Linked DNA regions of Homo sapiens: all the other regions are linked to region 1. Evidence: promoter capture Hi-C in 16 types of primary human blood cells and fetal thymus (Javierre and others, 2016). All regions are on one chromosome and are shown on one strand. Each heading gives the region's core, a stretch centred on a gene start or on the middle of the fragment in contact. The rest is flanking DNA. Distances are from core to core; before and after follow the strand shown. Region 1 holds the start of ASAP3 (ArfGAP with SH3 domain, ankyrin repeat and PH domain 3). Region 2 has its middle 15 kb from the start of RPL11. Region 3 overlaps MDS2 (myelodysplastic syndrome 2 translocation associated). Region 4 has its middle 4.0 kb from the start of MDS2.

Region 1 (7,179 bases), core at 1,380-3,879:
GTGTTTGGGTGCCGCAAGCCTTTCTGTTGTAACAATGAACCTCTACGTGCACCAAACCAAAAATCTGAAGGCAAAGGAGGATGGGTTTTGTCTTGCCTGAACTGGGGCAAAGCTGAGCCCTGAACAGAGCCTGCTGTGGCCTCCAGACCCATTCTAAGGGTCCCTCCCCCAACACACAGTGCTTACACTTACACAGCCAGGCAAGGCCAGATGTATGGGCATAAATGGGCATTTCTGTCCATGGATAAGGTTCATATTGGAGCCCCTTCTCCTGCTCTAAGATTCTAATGAACAACCTGGGGAGGAGGATGAACCATGAAATCCCTAAGAATGTGGATGGCACTGAGCTATTCTGGGTCATGAAATGTGAGGCTATGAAGACAAATCTCAGGAAGCTCTCCAAAGGATGGGCTGGACAGCAGTGTTTCCCTGTGAGCCCCACAGTAAAATATAACCCACATCCACAGGCAGTGGACTCTGCCCAAGGAAGGAAGCCAAATCTGACCGGCTGCTTCTTATTTTAATAAAACATGTACCCCTACTATGTGCAAAGTAGTAGGCTAGGCTCCGTGAGACAAATGAGACAAGGTGAGGCTCTGTGAGACAAATGAAGACAAAAGAGACCCAATCACTGTCTAAAGAGATCTGCCGATTAATCTGACGATAATCATTCCATTTATCAAGAGGCATGGGCCAGTGCAGCGGCTCACACCTATAATCCTAGTACTTTGAGAGGCCAAGGCGGATAGACTGCCTGAGCTCAGGAGTTCAAGAACAGCCTGACCAACATGGTGAAACCCTGTCTCTACTAAAAATACAAATATTAGCCGGGTGTGGTGGAGCATGCCTGTAATTCCAGCTGCTTGGGAGGCTGAGGAATGAGAATTGCTTGAACCCGGGAGGCAGAGATTGCAGTCAGCTGAGATCGCACCACTGTACTCCAGCCTGGGAGACAGAGCAAGACTCTGTCTCCAAAAAAAAGATGCATGCTTTATATGCATTGTCTCATGTGAGGTACACATTATTACCCCCATTCCACAGATGACAGGACAGGTCACATGCCCACGTTCACCCAAATGGCAAACTGCAGAGCCAGCGTTTGAAAAAAGGTCTGCCTTGGCCGGCGCGGTGGCTCACGCCTGTAATCCCAGCACTTTGGGAGGCCGAGACGGGCGGATCATGAGGTCAGGAGATCGAGACCATCCTGGCTAACACGGTGAAACCCCGTCTCTACTAAAAATACAAAAAAAAAATTAGCCAGGCGTAGTGGCGGGAGCCTGTAGTCCCAGCTACTCGGGAGGCTGAGGCAGGAGAATGGTGTGAACCTGGGAGGCGGAGTTTGCATTGAGCCAAGATCGCGTCACTGCACTCCAGCCTGGGCGACACAGCGAGACTCCGTCTCAAAAAAAAAAAAGGAAAGAAAAAAGGTCTGCCTTCCCCAAAGTCGATGCTCCTTCCACAATCCTCTATCACCCTTACAAAGTGATACAAACAGACTCCGAGATGGAGGGTCACCCTGACAAGAGAGAAGAGGACAGATTTCCTGACACTGGCGCAGGGTGTTATGAACTACTGAGCTTTGTATCTGCCACGCAGTGGGTGCCTAGTACACTTAAGGTGAAGGGTGGAAGGCTAGAGCCGTTGCTGAGGTCCAAAATGCCACCCAAATTGAGGGCATCCTTTGGATGGGGAGCTGCAAAAACACATTATTCTCCGTTGGACCAAGGCCACGGGGTGTCTGTCCTAGAATATTCTTTGCAGAGGAGCTGCGGAAAGCTGCAGCAGGTTCAGAGAAGAGGAATGGAAGGAACTCCGAAGAGCATGGGAATGGGGTGGGGCAGCCTGCAAGACCGAAAGAAAAGGCCTGGGACGCTTTGCTGGGAAAGACAAAGAGGAGAGGGGAGGGGAGAGGAGACGATAAACTTGCCAACAGCCCGGCCAAGGTGAACCCCGGCTCCTGGCGCCTTCCCATCCGCATTCATTCCACAAACGCGGGCCAAATCTCCGAACCAGCCGCAAGCGGGAGGGGGCCTCTCTGCAGCCGGGGGGAAGAAAGTTCAGGACTGAGGCGGGAAGCCTGCCTCTCAGAAGGGGAGTGACTCGGGGGGCACACTTGTGGGGCTCCGAAGATGAAAACGCAAACTGAGGCTGGAAGGCGCTAGGCAAACACATATGTGATGAGGCGGTCACGCGGGGCACTTGGGGTACGTCCCCCGACCTGTGGAGTTTGTCATCGAAGAGACCTCGAGGCCCCCCAAAACGGTCCCTCGGGCCTTCCCCCGCCTCGACGGTGAGGACGCAGCTGTTGGAGATGCGCTCGGTCCTCCCAGACCTAGGGAGGGGGCAGGTTTCGGGGCGCGGTGAAGGGCCATCGCAGCTCGGGTGCGACACGCCTGTGGAGGTCAAGGCCAGGCCCGGCGCCGACCCCCGACCCCTCCCGCCTCGGCCCCCTCACCTCCTCCCGCGCCAGCGCCGCCCCTCGGTACCGGGGCATCTTGGCGGCGAAGGCGGCGGCCCCAGCCGGGGAGCTGAGGTCCTCCGCGGTGACGGCCAGGAACTCGGCGACGCTGAACTGCTCCGGCATGGCGGGCGCGAGCGTGGAGCTGCCGGAGCGGGGCGCGGGGGGCACTGAGCTGCTCCGCGCTGAGCCGGCCTCACCGCCGGCCGGGGGCGCCGTCCCGGCCTCCACACGCCCCGCCCCTCCGCACGCCCCGCCCCCGACCCTCCAGCCGCTCTCCGCTCCTCAGCTGGGACGGCCCCGCCCCCGGCTCCTCGCCTTCCTCCACCGCCAAGGTCCAGGCTCCGGCCCCGGTCCCGGCCCCGCACCGCGTCAGGCCGCTTCCCCGGCCCCTCGCCGGCCCCCTAGGCCACGCCCCCAGCCCCTCACCGCCTCAGACCCCGCCCCCTGGCGCGATGCCCCACCCCTGGCCTCAGTAGAAACTCCTCCGCCTTCCCCCATCCCTGCCCCTTCAGGGCTCTGTCCCGTTTCATCCCGCTCTGGGTCTTCCAAATCCTCCTCCCTTGCACGGCCCAGGCTGTTCCATCTCCGCGTCGAGTCTTAGAGCCCCCTCCCTCTTCCTCCCTCCTCTGCTGATTCGTTCCGAGTTCCCCATGACCTCGCCCCTTCTGCCCTACCACCCCCCCGCCACCCTTCCCTCCTCTCTCCCCAGTCCCGCCCAATCTCCTTGCCTCGCTCCGCCCCGAATCGCCCCACCCCTCCTTTGCTGCGTACGCCCAGCTCTCAGCCTCAGCTTTGCAGGCATCCGGAGACTCCCTCCTGATAACCCCCGCCGCCCCGGGGATGTGTGGATCGGGGCCCCTGGCTAGCTGTGTGACTTGGGGAAAATTACTTCTCTTCTGGAACCTCAGTTTCCTTATCTGTACAATGGGAAGCCTGATGCCCGCTTGATTGTGATGTTGCGAAGAACCGAACACGTGCGTGTACTAGTTCCCTCTTACCCGACCATAGATCGCACCCACGCCTTTACTCTTCCTGCTCCTGCCTTTCACCCCTTAATCTGGCTCACCATCCTTTGGGGCGGATGAGGGATGGGGTTCAGGATAGAAATCCACTTAGGTTTAGTTCTGAAGCCTGAGGTCCTCTGGGGAAAAGTTCTCCAAGTAAAAAGCTAGGAAAGCACCGCAGCAAGGAACATTGGTTTTGGAGTCAGAGGAACCTAGATTCCAATCTTGGTTACTTTGGATAAATTGCTTGCTTCTCTAAGCCTGCATTTCCCCCTCTTAAAATGGCCTCATGGTATTTTACCCCACAGGGCGGCGATTGAGAGAATCTTTTCTTTTCTCGCACAGAAAAGAAAAGAAAAGAAAAAATCCGGAAAGATATGCACTAAAATGTTGCACCAGCAACATTTTATGCACTAGCTGAAGACAGATATGCACTAGCTGAAGACATTATGAGTAACTTTCTTTTCTTTTGGTGAATCTGTATATCCTAACTTTTATACAATGACCATATACTACTGTGTAATAGAATTAAAAGTTGACGGGAGCGATGGCTCATGCCTGTAATCTTAGCACTTTGGGAAGCCGAGGTGAGCGGATTGTTCAGGAGTTCAAGGCCAACCTGAGCAACATGGCGAAACCTTGTCTCTACAAAATATACAAAAATTAGCCCGGCGTGGTGGCTCTTGCCTGTAGTCCCAGCTACTTGGTGGGCTGAGGCAGGAAAATGGCTTAAACCTGGGAGGTCAAGTTTGCAGTGAGCTGAGATCCTGCCATTGCACTCCAGCCTGGGTGACAAAGTGAGACCCTGTCTCAAAAAAAAAAAAAAAGAAAAAGAAAAAGAAAAGAAAGAAAAAAGAATTAAAAGTTGAAAAAAATGTGTACCATCTGATAGAGACGACAACTATTCCAAGAGTTCTTTCAAGGTCAACTTCTCCTGTTGAAACCAAATAGGCACTTTTCTTGTTATTTATTTTTAGAGACAAGGTCTCACTCTGTCGCCCAGGCTGAAGTGCAGTGCAATGATCATAGCTCAAGGCAGCCTCAAACTCCTGAGCTTAGGCACTTTTCTTGCTTGACTTTTAGGAGCATCTGACAATGTTAACCACTCCCTTCTCCTTGAAACACCCTTGCCCCTGAATCCTAGGAGAACTATTTTCTTTGGTGGCCCTCTCCCTCTGGCTGTTCCAAGAGCCCTTTCTGAGATGCACTTCCTCCGCAGGGATCTTAAATGCTGGAGTTGTTGGGAGCTCTCTGCTAAATCCTCTGCATGTCTCACTCTATCAGCCTTCCTGGATTTCTTCATCCAATCCCAACGGTAATGTTGATGTCTTCTGTACTAGTTTCCTGTTGCTACTATAACAAATCACCAATAACTTCCCTCAGCCTCCCGAGTAGCTGGGATTACAGGCACGTGCCACCACACCCAGCTAATTTTTGTATTTTTTAGTAGAGACGGGGTTTCGCCGTGTTGGCCAGGCTGGTCTTGAACTTCTGACCTCAGGTGATCCGCCCACCTCGGCCTCCCAGAGTGCTGGGATTACAGGCATGAGCCACTGCGCCTGGCCACATTTATTCTTTTACATGTCTGGAGGTCACAAGTCTGCAATAACTTTCACTGGGCTAAAATCAAGGTATCAGTGGGGCTGTACTTCCTCTGGATGCTATAAGGGAGCATCTGTTTTCTTGCTTTTGCAGCTTCGAGAGCTGTAGTTTTTGCATTCTTTGGCTTATGGCACCTTCCACCTTCAAGGGCAGCAGCATCTTCAAGCATCTTACTTGCCTTCTTCCCTGTGATCAAATTTCTCCCAGCCTCCCCACCCCTCTTCTTTTTGTTTTTTTTTTGTTTTTTTTGAGACGGAGTTTCACTCTTGTTGCCCAGGCTGAAGTGCAATGGTGCGATCTCAGCTCACCACAACCTCCGCCTCCCGGGTTCCAGCGATTCTCCTGCCTCAGCCTCCAGAGTAGCTGGGATTACAGGCATGCGCCACTATGCCCGGCTAATTTTGTATGTTTAGTAGAGATGGGGTTTCTCAATGTTGGTCCTCGAACTCCTGACCTTAGGAGATCCACCCGCGTCGGCCTCCGAAAGTTCTGGGATTACAGGCATGAGCCACGGCGCCCGGCCCCCTCTTTTTTTTTTTTTTTTTTTTTTTTTTTGAGGCAGGGTCTCATTCTGTCACTCCAAGCAGTGGAGTGATCACAGCTCCCTGAAGTCTCAACCTCCTGGGCTTTTGCGATCCTCCCACCTCAGCCTCCCAAGTAGCTGGGACTGCAGGTGCATGACACCACGCCCAGCTAGTTCAACCTCTCTCTTTTTTTTTTTTTTTTTTTTGAGACGTGATGCCTCTCTGTCGCCCAGGCTGGAGTGCAGTGGTGTGATCTCAGCTCACTGCAACCTCTGCTTCACAGGTTCAAGGGATTTTTGTGCCTCAGCCTCCTGAGTAGCTAGAATTACAGGCCCATGCCACCACACCCAGCTAATTTTTTATTTTTATTTTTTATTTACTTATATTTTTATTTTTTGTATTTTTAGTACAGACAGGGTTTCATCATGTTGGCCAGACTGGTCTCCAACTCCTGACCTCAAGTGGTCCACCCACCTGGACCTCTCAAAGTGCTCAGCCTCCCTCTTATAAGGACATTTGTGATTACATTTAGGGCCTATCCAGATAATCCAGGATAATCTCCCCATCTCAAAATCCTTAATTTAATCACACCTGCAAAATCTCTTTTGCTATATAAGTGCCATTTACAGGTTCCATGGATTAGGACCTGGATATCTTTGGGAGCCATTACTGAGCCAATCACATCTTCCAAGGCTGTATTTCCAGCCTGGACTCTTCTCTAGTTCAAGATCTATGTATCCAGCCACCTATGAGACAGTTTCATTTCACTGGCTCACAGACAGACACCTTAAACTCTACAGGTCCAAAACTGAACTCACCATCTCGTACGCCCACTCCTTGCACCAGATTGTTTTCTGTCCCTGTCTTGATGGAAGGCATTACCATGCACCCCCTCGGAGTCATCCTCTCCTCCCTTCTTCTACCAACCTCCCCTCAAACAAGTCTTGTCACTAGTCTCACCAGTGAGACCACCTTCTCCATCTGCAGGCCAACCCCAGTCCAGACCACTGCCACCTCTCACTTCCTCGCTGGTCTCCCTGCCCCTAATCTTGCATATCTGTTCTGTTGCTCCTCTACTTAGAACTCTTCAGTGCCCCCCGCATTGCTCTCTGAATAAAAGCCAAACTTGTTTTCATGGATGTCTAGCCCTGCATGGTCTTGCTGCTCCTGCCATTCACAGGCTGATCTCTTGCCTCTCTGTCCCCACTGTGATTGAGCCCCTTCACTGTTCTCCCCTCCGTCTGTAATGCTCTCCCACGTCCTTTCAGCAGGCCAACTTAGATGTCAATTCCTCCAAGAACCCTTCCTTGATGTACTTACTCTGGACTCCTACGGGATCCAGTATCTCCCACCACAGCAATTACCACTGTGGACTGTAATAATCAGTTTTCTGGTCTGGGGCTCTGGCCCACCTATTTATTTATTTATTTATTTACTACGTACTAGTCACAGGGCCAAGGGCTATACAAGCAATAGCTCACTCAATACCCACTCAATACTCACAGCAACCCTATGAGGTAGGTGACGTTATGCTTCCCATCTCACTGAAATTAAAGCTTAGAGAGATTAATTTGTATAAAGTCAGAAT
Region 2 (7,179 bases), core at 3,040-5,539, 220 kb after region 1:
TACCACCACCAAAAAAAAAAAAAAAAAAATTTTGTACCACCTGTGGGCATTCCAACCCCCTCCTTCCCAAGTATAGGAAAACACTGGATGAGTTGGGTCCTGGTACCTGTAGTCCCAGCTACTCAAGAGGCTGAGGGGTGAGGATCACTTGAGCCCAGGAATTTGAGGCTGCAGTGAGTCGTGATCACATCACTACACTCCACACCGGGTGACAGAGTAAGACCCTCTCTAAAGGAAAAAAAAAAAAGACCAGGGGCAGTGGCTCATTCCTGTGATCCCAGCACTTTGGGAGGCTGAGGCAGGTAGATCACCTGAGGTCAGGAGTTCAAGACCAGCCTGACCAACATGGTGAAACCCCGTCTACTAAATACAAAAAATTAGCCAGGCCTGGTCGTGGGTGCCTGTAATCCCAGCTACTTGGAAGGCTGAGGCAGGAGAATCGCTTGAACCCGGGAGGCGGAGGTTGCAGTGCACTGAGGTTGTGCCGTTGCACTCCAGCCTGGGCAACAAGAGCCAAACTCCCATCTCAAAACCATATATATAATATAAATAATATAATATATAATATATACAATATAAATATATATAGTATAATATATAATATACATATTAATATATAATATATAAATATATAAATACATATATAATATATAAATATATATTACATAAATACATATGTAATATATAAATATATATTACATAAATACATATATAATATATAAATATATATTACATAAATACATATATAATATATAAATATATATTATATAAATACATATATAATATATAAATATATATTATATAAATACATATATAATATATAAATATATATTATATAAATACATATATAAAAATATATATAAATACATATATAATATATACACAGATTCCTGAACTCTTCTCAGAAACTTGGTTTTTGTAGGGCTCAAGAATTCACATTCTTACAACACTGAAGGTTGAGAATCATTGTTTTCTCAACAGCAGTGGCTTTCAAAGGTTTTTGACTACAGTTCACAGTAAAAAAAAAAAAATCCCTTCAGAGTAGCGGAAGGGCAAAAAATGTATTTTGTATATCACTACATACATATATACTCACCTCTGGAAAAAGCTTCATGAAACAACCTTACTACAGGTAATGCAGTCCTATTGTATAGTTGTTTACTTTTTTTTCCTAATGCTGATCTCTCTCTCTCTCTTATTTATTTATTTATTTTTTTGTTTGTTTGTTTTTAGACAAGGTCTTGCTTTGTTGTCCAGGCAGGAATGCAGTGGTGTGATCTCAGCTCACTGCAACCTCTGCCTCCCAGGTTCAAGCGATTTTCCTGCCTCAGTTTCCTTAGTTGGGACTACAGGTGTGCATCACCACGCCCGGCTAATTTTTGTAATTTTAGTCGGGTTTTCAGCATGTTGGCCAGTCTGGTCTTGAACTCCTGATCTCAAGTGATCTGCCCGCCTTGGCCTCCCAAAGTGCTGGGATTACAGGTGTGAGCCACAGTGCCCGGCCCCTAATGCTGATTCTAACCCATTGTATTAGTCTGTTTTCACACTGCTATAAAGAACTACCTGAGACTGGGTAATTAAGAAAAAGAGATTTTAATTGACTCATAGTTCCGCATGGCTGGGGAGGCATCAGGAAACTTAAAATTATGGTGGAAGGGGAAGCAAGGCATGTCTTACAGGGTGGCAGGCGAGAGAGAGCACAAAGGGTGAAGTTTTAAACCATCAGATCTCTGAGAACTCTATCACGAGAACAGCATGGAGGAAACCACCCCCATGATCCAGTCACCTCTCACCAGGTCCCTCCCTCCACACGTGGGGATTACAATTTGAGATGAGATTTGGGTGGGGCACAGGGCCAAATCATATCACCTATTAAGGAGCTTGTTTTTTGTGACAGGGACTTGTTCTGTCACCCAGGCTGGAGTGCAGTGGTGTGTTCACAGCTCACTGTAACCTCTAACTGGGCTCAAGTGAGCCTGCCTTGGCTTCCCAAGGTGCTGGAATTATAGGCATGAGCCACTACGCCCAGCCCAGTAAGTAGATTTTAATCCGCAATTTGAAAAACGCTGCAGTGTGTGATGTGTTGATCAAGTTTCAACCACAGAGGCAGAAGTTCTGAGCTAGAAGAGCCCTCAGAGGTCATTTAATCCACCAGTCCTTAAGCCTTGCACAGTACTGGGCTGGGTATAGGAGAATCACCTGAGATATTTGTTTAAAATGTGCATTCCAGGCCCCAACTCCCGAGAACTTAAAATGGAACAAAGGACTCTGTTTAAAGTTTAACGAGCTTCCTAGGTGAGTTGTATGCACAGCCAGATTTGGGAGTTCTCCAATGCAACCCTTACCAGTAAAGGCCCTCCAGAATGGTGGAGGGTTTGAATTTGCCTCTGCTGTGTGGAGGGCAGGCTTTCTCAGTTTGAAGTAACACCTTCAGGTTACTTAGGAAATACAATTATTTACCTGATACTTTGTTTAAAAGTTATAAAAGAACTCTGTTACTACTGAATTTGCAGGTTTGACATGTTTATTGTATTACTTTCTAGTATACTAAAATAAAGATGTAACTGTTTAAAAAATGTGACTGGCTGGGTGTTGTGGCTCATTTGGAAGGATTGCATGAAGCCAGAAGTTTGAGACCAGCCTGGGCAACATAGCAAGACCCCCCATTGCTACATATTTTTTTATCTAAATTAGCCGGCTGGGTGAGGTGGCTCACGCCTGTAATCCCAGCACTTTGGAAGGCTGAGGCAGGTGGGTCACCTGAGGTCAGGAGTTTGAGACCAGCCTGACAAATATGGTGAAACCCCGCCTCTAATGAAAATACAAAAATTAGCGGGGTGTTGGCAGGTGCCCGTAATCCCAGCTGCTTGGGAGGCTGAGACAGGAGAATCGCTTGAACCCGGGAGGCAGAGGTTGCAGTGAGCCGAGATTGTGCCATTGCACTCCAGCCTGGGTAACAGAGTGAGATTCCATTTCAAACAAACAAAAATTAAAAATAGGCCGGGCGTGGTGGCTCACGCCTGTAATCCCAGCACTTTGGGAGGCCGAGGCAGGCAGATCACAAGGTCAAGAGATCAAGACCAACCTGGCGAACATGGTGAAACCCCATCTCTACTAAAAATACAAAAAAATTAGCTAGGCGTGGTGGGCGCCTGTAGTCCCAGCTACTCAGGAGGCTGGGGCAGGAGAATAACTTGAACCCGGGAGGCAGAGGTTGCAGTGAGCCAAGATTGCGCCACTGCACTCCAGCCTGGGTGACAGAGTGAGACTCTGTCTCAAAAAATTAAAAATAAAAATAAAAATTAGCCAGGTGTAGTGGTGCATGTCTTTGGTCCCAGCTACTTGGGAGGCTGAGGCAGGAGGATTGCTTGATCTCAGGAGTTGAAGGCTGCAGTGAGCTGTGATCACACCACTGCACTTCATCCTGGGTAAGAGTGGGACACCTGTGTCTTAAAAAAAATAAAATAAAAAGGCCAGGCACGGTGGCTCACGCCTGTAATCCCAGCACTTTGGGAGGCTGAGGCAGGTGGACTGCTTGAGCTCAGGAGACCAGCTTGGGCAACATCAGTGAAACCCTGTTTCTACCACAAAAATTAGCCAGGCAGAGGCCGGGCATGGTGGCTCATGCCTGTAATCTCAGCACTTTGGGAGGCCGAGACGGGAGGATCATCTGAGGTCGGGAGTTCGAGACCAGCCTGACCAACATGGAGAAACTCCATCTCTACTAAAAAAAAATACAAAATTAGCCGAGCGTGGTGGCACATGCCTGTAATCCCAGCTACTAGGGAGGCTGAGGCAGGAGAATCGCTTGAACCCGGGAGGCGGAGGTTGCGGTGAGCTGAGATTGCGCCATTGCACTCCAGCCTGGGCAACAAGAGCGAAAACTCCATCTCAAAAAAAAAAAAAATTAGCCAGGCATGGTGGCGGGTACCTATAGTCCCAACTACTGCAGGAGAATTGCTTGAACCTGGGAGGCAGAGGTTGCAGTGAGCCAAGATCACACCACTGCACTCCAGCCTGGGAGACAGAGCAAGCAAGCCTTTGTCTCAAAAAAAAAAGAGAAAAAACAAAAAGAAAAATTTTTTAAAAGTGTGTCCACGGCCGGGCGCGCTGGCTCATGCCTGTAATCCCAGCACTTTGGGAGGCCGAGGCGGGCAGATCACCAGATCAGGAGATCGAGACCACCCTGGCTAACACGGTGAAACCCCGTCTGTACTAAAAATACAAAAAAAAATTAGCCGGGCGTGGCGGCGGGCGCCTGTAGTCCCAGCTACTCGGGAGGCTGAGGCAGGAGAATGGTGTGAACCTGGGAGGCGGAGCTTGCAGTGAGCCGAGATCGCACCACTGCACTCCAGCCTGGGTGACAGCGCGAGACTCCATCTCAAAAACAAAACAAAAGTGTGTCCACTAAAGTCACTTATCCAGTAACTTTTTTTTGAGCGTCTACCATGTGCTGGGCACTGTTTAAGGGGCATAGGATACATCAGTGAACAAAGACAAAGATCCCTGCCTTGGAGCTTACATTCTAATGGAGGGAGACAGACAATAAGCAATCCACGAGTAAATTACAGAGAATGTTATAGGATGGTATGTGTGTTGGGAAAAGAAAAAGTAGAGTGGGGTGAGGGGGTGAGGAAAGGCTGGTCAGAGGAGGCCTCACTGAGAAGATGAGATTTGAAGTGGGTAAGGGTTGGGCACTTGGATCTGTGAGGAGGAGCTTTTGGAGAGATGGAAGACTAGAGCAAAGGCCTTCAGGCAGAGGTGCGTTATAGCACTGAGCCCACTACAGCCAGGCAGTGTGAGAGGGCAAGAGGAGGAGGGGGTCAGAGATGATGGGCAGCCGCTGTGCAGGCTGTGTAGGGTGTTAGAAAGACTATGGCCTTTACTGGGAGCGAAATGAATCACTCCTTGCTAGGTTGGCAGAGGCATCACATGATCTGACTTCCATTTTAAAACTGTAACTGCATATTAAAAACAGAATATGGGGGGTAAGGGTGGAAGCAGGAAGACTTATCAGAAAGTATTGTCAGCTCAGTGCTCTTGTGCAACTGTAGTCCTATCTGCTTGGGAGGCTGAGGCAGGAAGATGGCTTGAGCCCGGGAGGTTGAGGCCAGGCATTCATGCTGGTCCAGACGTCGTGGCAGCATTGGAGGTGGTGAGACATGGGCAGATGATAGATACATCTTGAAGGTAAACCAGCAAGATTTCCATGGACAACTGGATGAAAGATAAGAGAGAAAGTGAAGTTGAGAATGACTCAAGTTTCTGGCCCCTAGCAAAAGAAGTATGGAGTTGCTGTTAATTTCGATGGAGAAGGTAGCATGGAACAGATTTGACAGTTAGGAATTCCATTTTGAACATGCGTAACTTAAAATCTATCATCTAAAGGAAGATGTTGAGTAGGCATTCTGGAGGCTGGTCTGCAGATATCTGTTTGGAGGTCTTCAGCATAGGGAGGTCCGTATTTACAGTCTTGAGACTGGATGAAGTCATAGGGGAGTGAGTATGACAGAAAGGGAAAAGGACCCAGGACTGAACCTTAGGGTACTTAAGCATTAAGAGGCCTGAGAGGCGGCCGGGCACAGTGTCTCACACCTGTAATCCCAGCACTTTGGGAGGCCAAAGTGCGAGGATTGCTTGAGGCCAGGCATTCGAGACCAGCCTGGGCAACATAGCAAAGCCTCATAGTGAGTCTCTATTAAAATTGTTTTAAAAAAACTAGCCAGGCATGGTGGTGCATACCTGTAGTCCTAGCCACTTGGGAGGCCAAGACAGGAGGATTGCTTGAGTCCAGCAGTACAACACTGCACTGAGCTGAAATCACACCACTGGACTCCAGCCTCAGCAAAAGAACAAGACCCTGTCTTGGCCGGGCGCAGTGGCTCACGCCTGTAATCCCAGCACTTTGGGAGGCTGAGGCGGGCAGATCACAAGGTCAGGAGATCAAGACCATCCTGGCTAACACGGTGAAACCCTGTCTCTACTAAAAATACAAAAAATTAGCCGGGCGTGGTAGCGGGCATCTGTAGTCCCAGCTACTCGGGAGGCTGACGCAGGAGAATGGCGTGAACCCGGGAGGCAGAGCTTGCAGTGAGCCGAGATCGCACCACTGCACTCCAGCCTGGGCGACAGAGCGAGACTCCGTCTCAAAAAAAAAAAAAGAAAAAAAAGAACAAGACCCTGTCTCAACTCAAAAAATAAGAATAATAATAGTAATAAAAAGAGTTGTGAGGAAACAAGAGGAATTGGCAAAGGAGAAAGAGGGACCGGTAAAGTAGGAGATAAACCAAGTGCCTGGTAACCTGGAAGTAAAGTCAGGGTGTGTGAAGGAGGAGGGATGATGAACTGAGGTGAGTGCTCCCAAAGAGTCCGGTAAAACGAGGACTTTGAATTAGGCATTGGACTTCACAGCATGAAGGCCTCTCGTGGCCTCTCTGGAGCAGTGCTGCCAGGGTGATGGGCCAGAAAGCCTGAGTATAGTGGGCTTCAGAGAGAAGGTGAGGAGAGTGACTGGGGACAACTGGTAGACAATGCTTCCAAGGAGTTCTGCTGTCAAGGGGAACAAAAGTGGGAAAAAAACTTTCTATGACTGAGAAAATCCAGTAGAGAGAAAAATTGATGTGGGAGAAGGGAGACCTGCAGTAGCAATATCCTTGAGTGGGTGAGAAGGGTTGGCTTGTAGCACACAGAGGGGGTTTAGACTTGGATAGAAGCGTGGCTGGGGTGTTGGTGATAAGTTGGGAGCCTGCCTGTGTGAGTGCACATGTTGGCTGGTGGTAGATACGGGATGGAGTTCTGTGGATGTGCCCGGCCGCCTCTCAGGCCTCTTAATGCTGAAGTACCCTAAGATTCAGTCCTGGGTTCAGTTCTCTTCAGTTCTCTTCGCATTGCTTTCATTTTCTCAGTGAAGTAGAAATAAAGGTAGGGATGAGTCACTGGGAGAGTCCTGCGCCATGTGTGGGGAACTCTACCTGAGGGCAGGACCCTCAATGCAGCCTCTATGGGTAAAGAAATAGGTTTGAGAGGTAAAGAGCCATGCGCAGGATCACACAGCTGGTTAGTAGCAGAGCCAAGCCTAACCCAGATGGCCTGGTTTCCTGCCTAGCATCTGACAGATCCATAAGAGACAAATCATTTCACCATCTTGACAAGGTTGAACTCTCATGGCTCTTCCTAGTA
Region 3 (7,179 bases), core at 3,458-5,957, 160 kb after region 1:
GTAGCTGGGACTACAGGCGCCCACCACCACGCCCGGCTAATTTTTTGTATTTTTAGTAGAGACGGGGTTTCACCTGTTAGCTAGGATGGTCTTGATCTCCTGACCTTGTGATCCACCGGCCTTGGCCTCCCAAAGTGCTGGGATTACAGGCGTGAGCCACCGCACCTGGCTTTTTTTTTTTTTTTTTTTTTTTTGGAGTCTCGCTTTGTCACCCAGGCTGGAGTGCAGTGGCACAATCTCGGCTCACTGCAACCTCTGCTTCCCGGGTTCAAGCAATTCTCGTGCCTCAGCCTCCTGAGTAGCTGAGATTACAGGTGCCCGCCACCAGGCCGGGCTAATTTTTGTATTTTTAGTAGAGATAGGGCTTCAGCCTGTTGGCCGGGCTGGTCTTGAACTCCTGACCTCATGACCCACCCACCTCGGCCTCCCAAAGTGCTGGGATTACAGGCATGAGCCACCGCGCGCAGCTTAAGGGGGTAGAATCTGAGATCCATCAGCTCTAGAGTTTGGGATCTTGAGTAACAGTTTCGCCACGTTTAACAAATGTCCGGGGCCTGGAACGGAGACACTGGCGCTTCTATCGCGCCATCTGCTGGCCAAAACGTAGAGCTCAACTGGCGACGGAAAGGCGTTGGTTCCCAGGCTTGACAGGATTCCCTTCTGCCCTCTTCTCAACTGTTTCTCCCAACAGCCCTGAGTGGGTGGTAGGCAGGAATTGTCCAGCCTCATCTTACCAATGAGGAGACCAAGGCTTGGAGAGAAGAGGCGACTTCTCAAAGATGATCCAGAGGAGTAAAGGAGGCCCCGGGATTCAAACCCCCCTCCGTGAGGTGCTCTCCACCTCCCGCTGTCCTCAGTGTGGACTTAGATCCCAGAGCATCTTCACCCCTCTGAGGGGGTGAGGCCAGTCCCCTCCCTGGCTGGCTTGCAGACAGCGACCCAGGTTCAGGTAGCGGCCTAACCCACCCAGCTCTGTCTCTGTGGGGGTGGTTTGACCTGATGCAGGTTTGAGCCTGTATCAGGCTCTGTGGGGGGTTAGGGCAGGGTTCTCAAGGCTGAGCAGAAAGCTTCCACCCCACCCCTCCACTGGGGACTCCAAGCAGGTGACATTTCTGTTTGGGGAGCTGGCTGCCCCTTCCCTGTCCCCAGCCCTTCAGGAATTCTGGGTCTCAGGCTCTGGAAGGAGGGAGAGGAGAGAGAGAGGAGGCCCAGGCAGAAGTGGGGAGACAGTAGGCTGGGAGAAGGAGGGGCATGGGGGTGGGGCCAGAGCAAGGCCACAGCGAATGATAGTGACAGCAACCGTGCTAAGAAGAGCTGCCACTGTGGAGGGACAGGCGCTGCAAAGGTGCTTTACGGGAATTATGAGCCTTAACCTTCTCTGTGGCCCTGAGAGGCAGGGAGGATCATGACCCTCACTGACAGTGGAGGAGCAGTATCCAGGAGCTTGAGTAATGTGCCCAGGGTCACATGGCCAGTGAATATGAAGCCAGAATCACAACCCAGGGAGTTGTGACTCCCAGAAGGAGGGGACTGATGGGAAGCAGAGTGAAGGAGCAAAGGACTGATGGGGTGGCCATCAGGCTGGGAGTGGGGGACAAAGACGTCCAGCTGCCTGGCCGTCCCATGGCTGTCATCGTGTGTACGAGTGTGTATGTGTGCCAGGGAGAGAGAGTGTCTGAGAGTCTCGGTTGTCAAATCTTGGTGACATCCTGGTGGCATGGGTTGTCTGACTGTGGCTGAGCAATCTGGGTTGTTGAGGGGCCAGGAAGGCTTCTTCTCTCCCTCAAGAAGTCTGGGTCAACTTTGAGTCATCCTTCTGAGCACATCTTAAAAGTCACCTCTCCTGGGAAGCCCTCCTGGATTGCTAAAATGGGGTCGAATTCCCATGTTACACACTTGCAATGCTTCTCCTGCCAAGTAGTCATCATATGTATAAGTGGTTAAATATTTGTATTTACTCGGTAGAAGCCCTGTGTTCTGACCCAGTTGGAGCTGGTAGTGGGCAGGTGCCAGGAATTTAGATAAAACCAGATGTGCGGGGGCAGGTTGCAGAGGGAAACCCTGGCTCTGAACATTCATTGTTTCCTGAGCTCCAGGCTGCGGATTTTATTGAGAGAACGGAGACTGCTGGTGAACTCTCAAGAGGGTTAATTGGAGTTTTATCAAGCCAGATTTCATGGTGTCTGCTTAATGTTAATCTCTCCAAGCTTCCCACCAGACTGCAAAGGCTGAGGTGACTGCCTTGACTCTACTATGTCCCTAGAACTTAAAGCCCCGTGGGTGGTTCTTGCACTTGACAAACACATATTAAAGGAAAGAACGAATCGATGAAGCATGGGTTTGGGTGCCGGGCTGGGGAAACCAGGTTTGTGAGTGAGGGGATGAGGTGACAGGACCCAAGCAGGGCTGGCATGGGTGGCAGCGGAGAACCACAAGACCACGTGTGGTCACCTATGTGATGATGCCTCCTGGAGTTGTTCAGAGCAGTGCACAGCCTGTGGTAGGGGGCTGGCTTCCCTTAAACGCTGTTTGGGGAAGTACAGCCTGACAGTAGGTTTTCAGGAACTGGGAGGACCAGAAGGTGCCCTGATTCCCTTCCTCCCTGATCTCCCCTGGCACCAGCTCCTTGCTCAGCCTCCTCGCTTCTCTAATTTCTTGCAGCTGCAGTGTTCTGAATAGCAGTCCAGCTATGAGGGGAGGTGCCCGTGGCAGGCCTCAGCTGACCCTGGAGAGGCCATTAAGACCTGGCTGTCGCCTCCACAGCTGCTCGGAGGCAGGTGAGTCTGGTTCTCTGAGTCTCCCTCCTAGAGGTGGGCACTGAAGTCAGGCCCAGCGGATGGGAAGGAAAGAGGCCAGGGCTGGAGAAGCAGCCAGCGTTTCCCACTTCCTCCCCAACTGCCACTCCAGGTGGTGGCCCAGGTGACTGGGTCTCTTTGTCCTCCTCCCTCCCAGACACACTCTTGCCCTGGGTTTTCAGGAAAGTGGGGAGGCTAAGCAGCTCATCCCAGGCAGTTGGGCAAACCATCCCACCAGGTACCTGGCCAGATGCTGTCCCAGACACCTCCCTCCAGGCTGTCATCCTCCACATCACTGGGACTAGTAGTAAGGGAAATAGAAAGCTCCCCAACGCCCTCCACCTGCACCCCAGGCCTGATCCTGAGGCATGGCTGGCTCAGAGACAGTGACAGTGGGGTCAAAGGGTATGAGACAGATTCTCCATCTACCAGGAACAGGCAAGTGAGCCTCAGCCTCCTCGTCTGGAATGAGGGACAATAGTACCTATTTCACAGTAAAGTTTCTGGAACATAGGTGTTCAATAAATGACAGACGCTACCATCACAGATTACCAATGTTACAAAACTGTAAACAGAGAAAGGTGGCTTTGTAAGAAGAAAAGAGATCATTCTTTTTCCACCATGTGAGGACCCAGCAAGAGGGTGGCTGTCTGCAAACCCAGGGAGAGAGCCCTCACCAGGAATCTGCTGGCACCTTAATCTTGGACTTCCCAGCCTCCACAACTGTGAGGAATAAATGTATGTTGTTTAAGCCACCCAGTTTGTGGTATTTTGTTATAGCAGTCCTAGCTGACTAAAAAATACTGTCTCCTATAACCCATGAGTTTTGTTTCAAAGCACTTAACACAATCTATAGTTATACATCTACCTATGCAATTTATCTTTTTAAATTTTATTTTGTTTTATTATTTTTGGGGGATGGAGTCTCACTCAGTCACCCAGGCTGGAGTGCAGTGGCATGATCTCGGCTCACTGCAACTTTCGCCTCCTGAGTTCAAGCAATTCTCCTGTCTCAGCCTCTGAGTAGCTGGGATTATAGGTGTGTACCACCACGCCTGGCTAATTTTTGTATTTTTATTAGAGACGGGGTTTCACCATGTTGGCCAGGTTGCTCTCAAACTCCTAACCTCAAGTGATCCAGCTGCCTTGGCCTCCCAAAGTCCTGGGATTACAGGCATGAGCCACCGCACCTGGCCTGTGCAATTTATCTTTTTAAGTTTTTCCTGAAGTATAACAAACACAAAAACACACAAATCCTGTGTACAGCTCAATATACCTTCACAAAATGAACCCATCTGCATAACCTGCCTCTAGGTCAAGAAGTGAACATAACCAGCTCCCCAGAAGCCTCCTTGTGACGCCTCCTCATCGCTACCTCTCCCTGGAGGTAGCTATCATATAATTATTCATTTAGTTATCAATGTGGGTGTCATGTGTGTCCTCTATGGATTATTTTCTTAGGGCTGCTGTAACAAATTACTACAGCCTTGGTAGCTGAAAGCAACAGAAACTTATTCTCATGGTTCTTCCAGAAGTCTGAAATCAAGGTGGGCTGGGCGCGGTGGCTTATACCTATAATCCCAGCACTTTGGGAGGCTGAGGTGGGAGGATTGCTTGAGCCCAGGAGTTTGAGACCAGCCTGGGCAACATGGTGAAACACCATCTCTACGAAAAAATACAAAAAATAGCCAGCCTGTAGTCCCAACTACTTGGGGGGCTGAGGCAGGAGGATTGCTTGAGTCCGGGAGGTGGAGGTTGCAATGCGCTGAGATCACGCCACTGTACTCCAGCCTGGGTGATGGAGGGTCTAAGGGAAGATCCATTCCATGCCTTTCTCCTAACTTTTGGTGGCTGCTGGCAAAATCCTTGGCATTTTGTGGAGTGCCCCTGCCCTCCAGTCTCTGCTTCTGTCTTCACAAGGCCTTTTCGTCTGTGTCTCTGTGCACTCTTCTGTCTCTTATCAAGACACTCTCATTGGATTTCAGGCCCACCCTAATCCAGCATGATTTTATTTTGATACTTATCTTAATTACACCTGCAAAGACCCTGTTTTCTTTTTCTTTTTTTTTCTTTTCTTTTTTTTTTTTTTGAGATGGAGTCTCACTCTGTCGCCCAGGCTGGAGTGCAGTGGCACTATCTCGGCTCACTGCAAGCTCTGCCTCCCGGGTTCAGGCCATTCTCCTGCCTCAGCCTCCCAAGTAGCTGGGACTACAGGCGCCCGCCACCACGCCTGGCTAATTTTTTTGTATTTTTAGTAGAGACGGGGTTTCACCGTGTTGGCCAGGATGGTCTCGATCTCCTGACCTCGTGATCCACCCACCTCGGCCTCCCAAAGTGCTGGGATTACAGGCGTGAGCCACCACGTCCGGCCAACCCTGTTTTCAAGTAAGGTCATATTCTGAAGTTCTAGGTGGACATGCATTTTTGGGAGACACGCTTTCACCCACCGTACCCTACAAGATTGCAAGCCCCAGGAGGACAAGTGGTGTCACTCATCTTTGGATCCCCAGAACGAGCCTAGCCTCAGAACCTAGCCTGGCAGATAGGAGCTGCTCACAAAATGTGGGCTGAATAGATGAATTATCAGTACATCTTCACATCAGGAGAACCAATGCTGTGTACCTGACACATGGTGGGTAGTGAGTAATTGATTGACAAGTGAATGACATTTAGACATCAATTGAGAGTGACTGCAGAGTATAGAAATAATGATAGGATGGCTGGGCGTGATGGCCATGCCTGTAATCCCAGGACTTTGGGAGGCTAAGGCAGGTGGATCACTTGAGGTCAGGAGTTCAAGACCAGCCTGGCCAACATGGTGAAGCCCTATCTCTACTAAAAATACAAAAATTAGCCAGGCATGGTGGCACATGCCTGTAATCCCAGCTACTTGGGAGGCTGATGCAGGAGAATCACTTGAACCTGCGAGGCAGAGGTTGCAGTGAGCCGAGATCATGCCATTGCACTCCAGCCTGTGCAATGAGCAAAACTCTGTCTAATAAATAAATAAATAATGATAAGATGGCCAGGCACGGTGGCTCATGCCTGTAATCCCAGCACTTTGAGAGGCCGAGGCAGGTGGATCACTTGAGGTCAGGAGTTCAAGACCAGCCTGGCCAACATGGTGAAACCTCATCTCTATTAAAAACACAGAAATTAGCCTGATGTCATGGCAGGTGCCTGTTTCCAGCTACTTAGGAGGCTGAGGCAAGAGAATGTCTTGAACCTGGGAAGCTGAGGTTGCAGTGAGCAGAGATCATGCCACTGCACTCCAGTGTGGGTGACAGAGCAAGACTATCTCAAAAAAAAAAAAAAAAGGCCGGGCGTGGTGGCTTATGCCTGTAATCCCAGCACTTTGGGAGGCCAAGGCTGGCAGATCACCTGAGGTCAGGAGTTCGAGATCAGCCTGGGCAACATGGTGGAACCCCGTCTCTACAAAAAACACAAAAAATTAGCTGGGCGTGGTGGCACGTACCTGTAGTCCCAGCTACTCAGGAGTCTGAGACATGAGAATTACTTGAACCGGGGAGGCGGAGGTTGCAGTGAGCCGAGATCATGCCACTGCACTCTAGCCTGGGCAACAGAGTGAGACTCCATCTCAAAAAAATAAAAATAAAAATAAAAAAATAAAAAGAAATAATGAAGGTGCTGCTCACTGAGCACTTACTTTGGCCCCCCTGTATTCTCTGCATGGTTCTATTTAATCCCATTTTACAGAAAAGTAGGGGATCATGTGTCCCAGTTTGGATGGGACAGATCCAGTTGGCACCTATTGTCCCAGCATAGGGAGTATTTTATTCCCACTTTCCCATTCTAGTCTTAGAAGCGTACTGAGCTGGTCAATAAAGTACATGGTCACCCCATAGATAAGGCAATGGAGCCTTAAAAATTCCTAAAGGCAATAAATTCAGCACCTGATTTGCTTTCTTCTCAGAGACTCTAAAGCCTTTGCCCTTAACTGCTAGTGGTGCTGAGGGTGTTAATTAGGAGGGTTGTTGTTTTTTTGTCCTTGTTTTAGTTTTGGCAGCAATAAGGCTGGTATCAAGTAACCATCTCAAGAGAGAGAGGTCGTAGGGAGGCCAGCTCCCTCCCTGCTCCAGTCTGGTGATCTGTGGAGGAGGAGAGAGGTTCACAGACCCCCATCCACGCAGAATGGCTCAAGAATTTGCAGGTCCCAGTGCAAAATCAAAATGCAGAGCCTCTTGTTAAACAGTTAAAAAACTGTTAATAATTCAAGACAGCAACAGCAGAGCATTAAACAAACGCTGGGCCCTTTGGTGTGTGGGACCATGCAGGTCACATGCCCATGAAACTGTCCCTGCATCCCCCTCTTACCCAAGCTGGGACTCTGGCAGTCATCCTTGACCTCTCCCCCTCTCTAAGC
Region 4 (7,179 bases), core at 2,445-4,944, 140 kb after region 1:
TGGCGGCAGGTGAGTGGGTGTCGAGGAACCGCCAGGCAGCGGAGAAAACAGGACGCCGCAGAAATCAGATTACTCACCTGCAGCTGCTACTACCCAGGGCTAATAAAAGCAGAGCTTCCTGTTGTTTCTTTATTACCGCCCTCTGCCTCCCTCCGCCCCAATCCGCTCCCAGCTGCAGCCAGAGCCCTAACTGATCGCCAGAAACCGGTTGCTTGGGGTCCAGACCAATCCAGTGCCTGAAATACCCTCTGTGCCGCACAGGGTTGGGTTAATGCTTCCTCAAGGGTGGACTTCGGTCACCTGCATGGGAACCACCTGGGGTGCTGGTTAACAACACACATCTCCAAATACGGCTTCACACCTGCTCGATCAATTCCTGCAGTTTGGGGCCCAAGAGCAGAATTCATAGGAATCTCAGGTGATTTGTAGGCAGGCTGAAGTTTGAGAACCACCGAGTCTGGATGTTGTAGGTTCAGATGATGTGGGTTTCCTGTTCTCAAATGCGACCCACAAGTTAGGGATGAAACCTATCCCCAGTCTTGGGCACGTGGGGCAGAGCCTCAGTCTGCTTATTTGTAAAATGGGGGTGAAAATAATACAGACCTCTCAGGACTGACTGAAACAAGGCTCAAATGGAGAATACACTTATCGTGATTCCTAGCGATTGCTCCTGGAGTGTATAGACCAACCAGGACTAGGCACGGAGTACCATCCATGGAGTGTGAGGGGCAGGATGAAGAAGCAGGCAGAATGGACCTCGGCTGGGAAGGGGCCATGATTCACCCTGGGTGCACTGAGAAAGACTTTTCACCGTTGAGCTTCTCCAGAGTCCAGTCCCCCTCACACCAGGAAAATGTTCCTGCCCAGGGCATGGACAACCCTGATGGCTAGATCCAGTGACCTCTTCTCAGCCCTTCTGTGACACCTGACTCTGGAGTGGACCTCACCTTTCTCCTCCAAGCTGTCACCTCCCTCAACTTCAGGGCAAGTTTGGATCCCCTTCTTCGTCTTCCTCCTATCTAGCTAGCAGCTCCCTTGCAGGCCCCCGCAGCCCTTCCTCCTCCTGCCTCCGCAGTCATGGGCACCTCGGCCTACTGCGCAGCCTCTACATCCTCCCAGGACAACTCACCCACTCCCAGTTACCTTCTTTAAGCTGAGCTCTGCCCTTCCTGAGTCCCTGATTCATAAACACAGCACCTCCTAGACATCTCTGCTTGGCAACTCCCCTGCATCCAACTCAACTTGACCAGCTCCAAACTCATCATCTCACTCTCCCCTGCCACCTGCCTCTTCTGGTTTCTCTGTCTCAGGGCAACACACCTGGATATTGTCCCAGGTGAGGTCTGCTCCTCAGCTCCTCATCCAGCTTTCCAATCCAATCCATTTTATCTCCCCAGTTTTGCTCCAGAATCTGTCCCCTTCTTCCTAGTCTTCCTGTCCCTCTGCACCCCAGGTCCCCTAGTTCAGGACTCCATAATCTCTCACCTGGATGATTCTAACAGCCTTTTTTTTTTTTTTTTTTGAGACCGAGTCTCACTCTGTCGCCCAGGCTGGAGTGCAGTGGCGCGATCTTGGCTCACTGCAAGCTCCGCCTCCTGGGTTCACGCCATTCTCCTGCCTCAGTGACATTTACTGAGCTCTTACCCAATGCTCAGTACCATGTCAAGCCAGTCAATCTTTGTAGCTTTAGCTCAGCCTCATACCATTTACATGATTATTATTCCTGACTTACAGATGAAAAAACTGAGGAAGAGGGAGGTTAGGTAGCTTGCCCAAGGTCACAAAGCTAGTAAGTAGCAGAGTTGGGATTTGTACCCAGGTCTCTCTGGATCCAAAGCTGGTACTGTTAGCTGTTCTAATCTTGAGCCACCTTGTCCCAGTTGCATAGTCTTCTCCTTTTTTGTATCTTCCCTGGCATCTCAGAGGATGCCTGGCATATGGCAGATGTTTGTTGAATGAATAAACAAATCTGTCTGCACTCCCATTTAATTCTTCTTTTTTTTGACAGAGTTTCGCTCTTGTCGCCCAGGTTGGAGTGCAGTGGCATGATCTCAGCTCACTGCAACCTCTGCTTCCTGGGTTCAAGCAATTCTCCTGCCTCAGCCTCTGAAGTAGCTAGGATTATAGGCATGAGCCACTACACCCAGCTAATTTTTGTATTTTTAGTAGGGCCTAGGTTTCACCATGTTGGCCAGGCTGGTCTCGAACTCCTGACCTCAGGTGATCCACCCACCTTGGCCTCCCAAAGTGCTGGGATAACAGGCATGAGCCTCCGTACCCGGCCCCATTTAATTTTTACAACAACCCTAGGAACTACATTTTTTTAAAAAAAACAAAACTTACTATGTAATATTTGATGATTACAAAAAATGTGTGTTGAATATCTGGCATATGAAGACAAACACCTGTGAACCCATGGCCCCAGCTTAGGAACTAGGCCTTCACCAGCACCACTGAGGCCACCTGTGTGTGCCTCCCCAGTCCTATTCCCTGCCTTCCTCCAGAAGTAAACACTATCCTGAATTTTGTGGTTATCATTCCATGCCCTTGCTTTGAAAAAAAAAATAATTTTACCAAATGGGGAGGATCCTGTGCAACACATTATTACGTTTGTTTTTTGATCTTTATATAAACAGCACAATGCATGTGCATTCTTCTTTGGCTTGATTTTTTCATGCATCACTATGTTTCTAAAATACGTACATGATTTTGCACTTTTGGCTGGCCTTCATTCCTTTTTCCTGCTGTCTAGTACTCCGTTGTCAAATAGAATTCAGTGACTTTATCCATTCTCCAGTTGATGAGCACATGGATTGTTTCCAGTTTTTCGCTATCACCAATAAGGCTGCCATGATCATTCTTACACCTATGTCTTGGTGCACACATGTAGGAGTTCCTCTAAGCTACCTACCTCAGACTGTAATTGTGGGTCATTGGGTATGCACATAATTAGCTTTACAAGATGCTGCCAAGTGATTTTCTGAAGTGCTTGTATTGACTAACATTCTTCCTTTCCTCTGCCACAGTGGATGAGAATTCCAGTACCTCCACATCATCCCCAACAGAGTATGATCAGATTCCTTCACTGTTCCTCACACGGTCTCCATTTGCACCTCTCTAATAAGATGAAACATCTTTTTTTTTTTTTTTTTTTTTTGAGGCGGAGTTTCACTCTTGTTGCTCAGGCTGGAGTGCAGTGGTGCGATCTCAGCTGACTGCAACCTCTGCCTCCCGGGTTCAAGCAATTCTCCTGCCTCAGCCTCCCGAGTAGCTGGGATTACAGGTGCCTGTCACCATGCCTGGCTCATTTTTTTTGTATTTTTATTTTTATTTTGAGACAGAGTCTCACTGCCTCCCAGGCTGGAGTGCAGTGGCGTGATCTCGACTCACTGCAAGCTCCACCTCCCGGGTTCACGCCATTCTCCTGCCTCAGCCTCCCGAGTAGCTGGGACTACAGGCGCCCGCCACCATGCCCGGCTAATTTTTTGTATTTTTAGTAGAGACGGGGTTTCACCGTGTTAGCCAGAATGGTCTCGATCTCCTGACCTCGTGATCTGCCTGCCTCAGCCTTCCCAAAGTGCTGGGATTACAGGCGTGAGCCACTGCACCCGGCCTTTTTTTGGATTTTTAGTAGTGATGAGGTTTCACCATATTGGCCAGGCTGGTCTTGAACTCCTGACCTCAGGTGATCTGCCTGCTTCATGCTGGGATCACAGGTGTGAGCCACCGTGCCCGGCCGAAACATCTTTTCATATGTTTATTTTGCATTCTGGTTTCTTTTTCTGTAAATTGGCTGTCCGGTCCTTTTGCCCACTTTTCTATTAGGTTGTTTAGCCTTTGCTTATTGGTTGGAGGCATTCTTGGAGAAGTTTTTTTTTTGTTTTTATTTTTTAGTAGAATTAGAATCTGGGACCCAAGTTCATGGAGGACAGAGCCAGCCTCAAACCTACATATGTCTGATTCCAGGGCCCTTAGTATCCACCCCTTTGTTTCTCATTCATTCATTTCTTTCTTTCTTTCCCTCTTTTTTTTTTGAGATGGAGTCTCACTCTGTCACCCAGGCTGGAGTACAGTAGTGTAATCTTGGCTCACTGCAACCTCTCCCTCCCAGGTTCAAATGATTCTCCTGCCTCAGCCTCCCGAGTAGCGGAGACTACAGGCACATGCCACCACACCCAGATAATTTTTGTATATTTTTTAGTAGAGTCAGGGTTTCACCATGTTAGCCAGGCTGGTTTTGAACTCCTGACCTCAAGGGCTTTGCCTGCCTCAGCCTCCCAAAGTGCTGGGATTACAGGTGTGAGCCACTGCACCTGGCTCATTTATTCATTTCTCAAATGTCTACTGATGACTTTCTCAGTAAACACTGGAGAGGGAGTAGATGGTTGTGGTTAAGAGCATAGATTCAGGACCCCCCTGACTAGATTTTCATCTCTGCCTCTCACTAGCTGTGACCTCGGGTAAATTTCTAACCTATCTGTGCCTTAGTTTCCTTTCTATAAAGTAAGGATGATAATAAAGTCCTCTCTTACAGGGTTGATATGTGAGGACTGATGAACGAGTTAATTCATATAAAGGGCTTTGGAGGTGGGGTGGTGCAGTCAGTGCTGAATAAATAAATAGTACATGCCAGGCACTGGGCCTGCAGCACACCATTCTGGGGACACAGGAATGAAAAGACAGACAATGACACTGACATCATGCAGCTCACTGTCCAACAGAAAGAGACAAACACAAAACAAGTAAATAAATAAAATAACGTGGTTGTGACAAAGGCAAGGAAGAAAACCACAAGGTGACGAGACAGAGGGTGACGAGACAGAGACCAGGCACTGACTCAGCTGAGGGGTCATGCAGGGAAAGCCCCCTGTAGGAGTTGACATTTAGGCCAAGGCATGGAGGAGGAGAAAGAGCCACCCAGGCAAAGAGCAGAAGAAGGTGGCCCAGAAGAGAAAAGGGCAGGTGCAAAGGCCCTGAGGCAGGAAGAGCTTGACATTTCAAGAACTGCAAGGAGAGCAGTGTGGCCATGGCTTTGGCTGTGGCTGTAGCCAAGTGAACACGGAGATGACAGCAGGAAGAAGGTGGGGAAGCACCAGGGCAAAGGGGCTGGAATTTTTTTTTTTTTTGAGACGGAGTCTAGCTCTGTCGCCCAGGCTGAAATGCAATGGTGCCATCTCTACTCAATGCAAGCTCCGCCTCCCAGGTACACACCATTCTCCTGCCTCAGCCTCCCGAGTAGCTGGGACTACAGGCGCCTGCCACCATGCCTGGCTAATTTTTTTTTTTTTTTGTATTTTTAGTAGAGATGGAGTTTCACCGTGTTAACCAGGATGGTCTCAATCTCCTGACCTCGTGATCCGCCCACCTCGGCCTCCCAAAGTGCTGGGATTACAGGCATGAGCCACCGCGCCTGGCCAGGGGCTGGATTTTATTCCAAGTGCAGTGGGTGGTTTTGGACAGCAGAGTGTTGTGATCTGATATATGTCTTTATTTTATTTTATTGAAACAAGAGTCTTGCTCTGTCACCCAGGCTGGAGTGCAGTGGTGTGATCTCGGCTTACTGCAACCTCTGTCTCCCAGGTTCAAGTGATTCTCATGCCTCAGCCTCCAGAGTAGCTGGGATTACAGGTGCCCACCACCACAACAAGGAAATTTTTTTTTTTTTTTTAGTAGAGGCAGGGTTTTGCCATGTTGGCTGGGCTGGTCTCAAACTCCTGACCTCAAGTGATCCGCCTGCCTTGGCCTCCCAAAGTGTTGGAATTACAGGCGTGAGCCACCATGCTCAGCCTAATTTATGTCTTTAAAAGATCACTCTGACTGCCTTGTGATCAACTATCTATGAACTGATCTAAATACTTCTTGAAGCCACTAGTATTTTTAGCCAGTACCCCCTCTGTGTGAAGCAAAACTTCCCTTTACTGGTCTTAAATTTACTTCTTTCGAGTTTCAAGGGGAGCCCCCTTCTGCCTCCTATCTTAGGGTTAGTGGCCCAATGCGAGATCTCTAGTAAAGGTTTTCACAGAGTGGGTGGGAGGAGGGTCTCCCAGTTTATACCTTACCTGCTCTGTGATGTTTCACCACCTGTAAAATGAAAATAATGAGAGTGGCCACCTCAAGAGGCTTTGATGATGAAATGGGACACAGCTTGGCAGCAGGGAGTAATCAATATAGGCTAGCTTCCATGCAGATGACAATTATGGTGATCAGGAGGAGGATGATAATGATAGGGATGATGGTGATGGTGATGATGATGGTGATGATGGGGATGATGGTGATGGTGATGATGGTGATGTTGATGGTGATGGTGATGATGGTGATGGGGATGATGATGATGGTGATGGTGATGGTGATGATGATGGGGATGATGATGATGGTGATGTTGGGGATGATGATGATGGTGGTGATGGTGATGATGATGGGGATGATGATGATGGTGATGATGATGATGGGGATGATGATGGTGGGGATGATGGTGATGGGGATGATGGTGATGGGGATGATGATGATGGGGATGATGGTGATGATGGGGATGATGATGGTGGGGATGATGGTGATGGGGATGATGGTGATGGGGATGATGATGATGGGGATGATGGTGATGGTGATGATGATGATGGGGATGATGATGATGGGGATGATGATGGGGATGATGAGGATTCTGTTGTGTGATATTGGGGGAGTCAGTGAATGACATTTTCCATGTCTGTCAAATAAGGGTGTTGGACCAAATGATCTGTGAAGGTCCATCGAGGTCTGATGTTCTAGAATTTTCTAGTTTAAGTGCTCTCTTCCTCCTTTCAGCCTGGGTTACCCTCTTCCCTGCAATTTTGGTGCTCCCTAGTGATGTGTGATGAGAGATGGAGTATTATAGTAGAGACAAAACTGATGTGGAGTCAGGAGGCCCGAGGTTCCAGCGGCACCATTTATAGTGGAGTCTTCATCATGGTGCATTTAACTTACACACATTTTTTTTTTCTCTTTGAGACAGGGTCTTGCTCTGTCACCCAGGCTGGGGTGCAATGGCGTGATCTCGGCTCACTGCAACCTCCACCTCCTGGGCTCAAGTGATTCTCATGCCTCAGCCTCCCAAGTAGCTGCGGTTATAGATGTGCACCACCACGCCCGGCTAATTTTTGTATTTTTCACAGAGACGGTGTTTCACCAGGTTGCCCAGGCTGG

What was found. Contacts are between HindIII fragments. The CHiCAGO score rates a contact against its expected background, and 5 or more counts as called.
Region 2: a contact is called between a fragment that was not itself captured here and the fragment with the promoter of ASAP3 in region 1, in 1 of 17 cell types (fetal thymus). The highest score is 6.0, in fetal thymus.
Region 3: a fragment that was not itself captured here is called in contact with the fragment with the promoter of ASAP3 in region 1 in 14 of 17 cell types (non-activated CD4 T cells, neutrophils, naive CD4 T cells and 11 more); the score reaches 15.2 in non-activated CD4 T cells.
Region 4: a contact is called between a fragment that was not itself captured here and the fragment with the promoter of ASAP3 in region 1, in 1 of 17 cell types (neutrophils). The highest score is 7.0, in neutrophils.

Annotation. Positions count from the first base shown.
Region 1 is chr1:23,481,550-23,488,728 of GRCh38, forward strand. ASAP3 (ArfGAP with SH3 domain, ankyrin repeat and PH domain 3) reads right to left here and starts at 2,630. Exons shown (of 25, transcript NM_017707.4): 1 at 2,456-2,630. The coding sequence starts at 2,584. RefSeq lists silencers at 2,465-2,914, 3,035-3,144, 3,155-3,204 and an enhancer at 3,395-3,494. The HindIII fragment of the contact is 9,206 bases long and covers 1-7,145 here.
Region 2 is chr1:23,703,045-23,710,223 of GRCh38, forward strand. No RefSeq gene overlaps it. Among named protein-coding and RNA genes, the nearest start is that of RPL11, 15 kb to the left of the region's middle. The HindIII fragment of the contact is 6,366 bases long and covers 1,107-7,179 here.
Region 3 is chr1:23,637,019-23,644,197 of GRCh38, forward strand. MDS2 (myelodysplastic syndrome 2 translocation associated) reads left to right here. Exons shown (of 6, transcript NR_167910.1): 5 at 2,662-2,777; 6 at 3,310-3,550. Among named protein-coding and RNA genes, the nearest start is that of MDS2, 13 kb to the left of the region's middle. The HindIII fragment of the contact is 5,004 bases long and covers 2,206-7,179 here.
Region 4 is chr1:23,619,748-23,626,926 of GRCh38, forward strand. No RefSeq gene overlaps it. Among named protein-coding and RNA genes, the nearest start is that of MDS2, 4.0 kb to the right of the region's middle. RefSeq lists enhancers at 1-266, 6,041-6,160 and a silencer at 1-41. The HindIII fragment of the contact is 8,968 bases long and covers 1-7,179 here.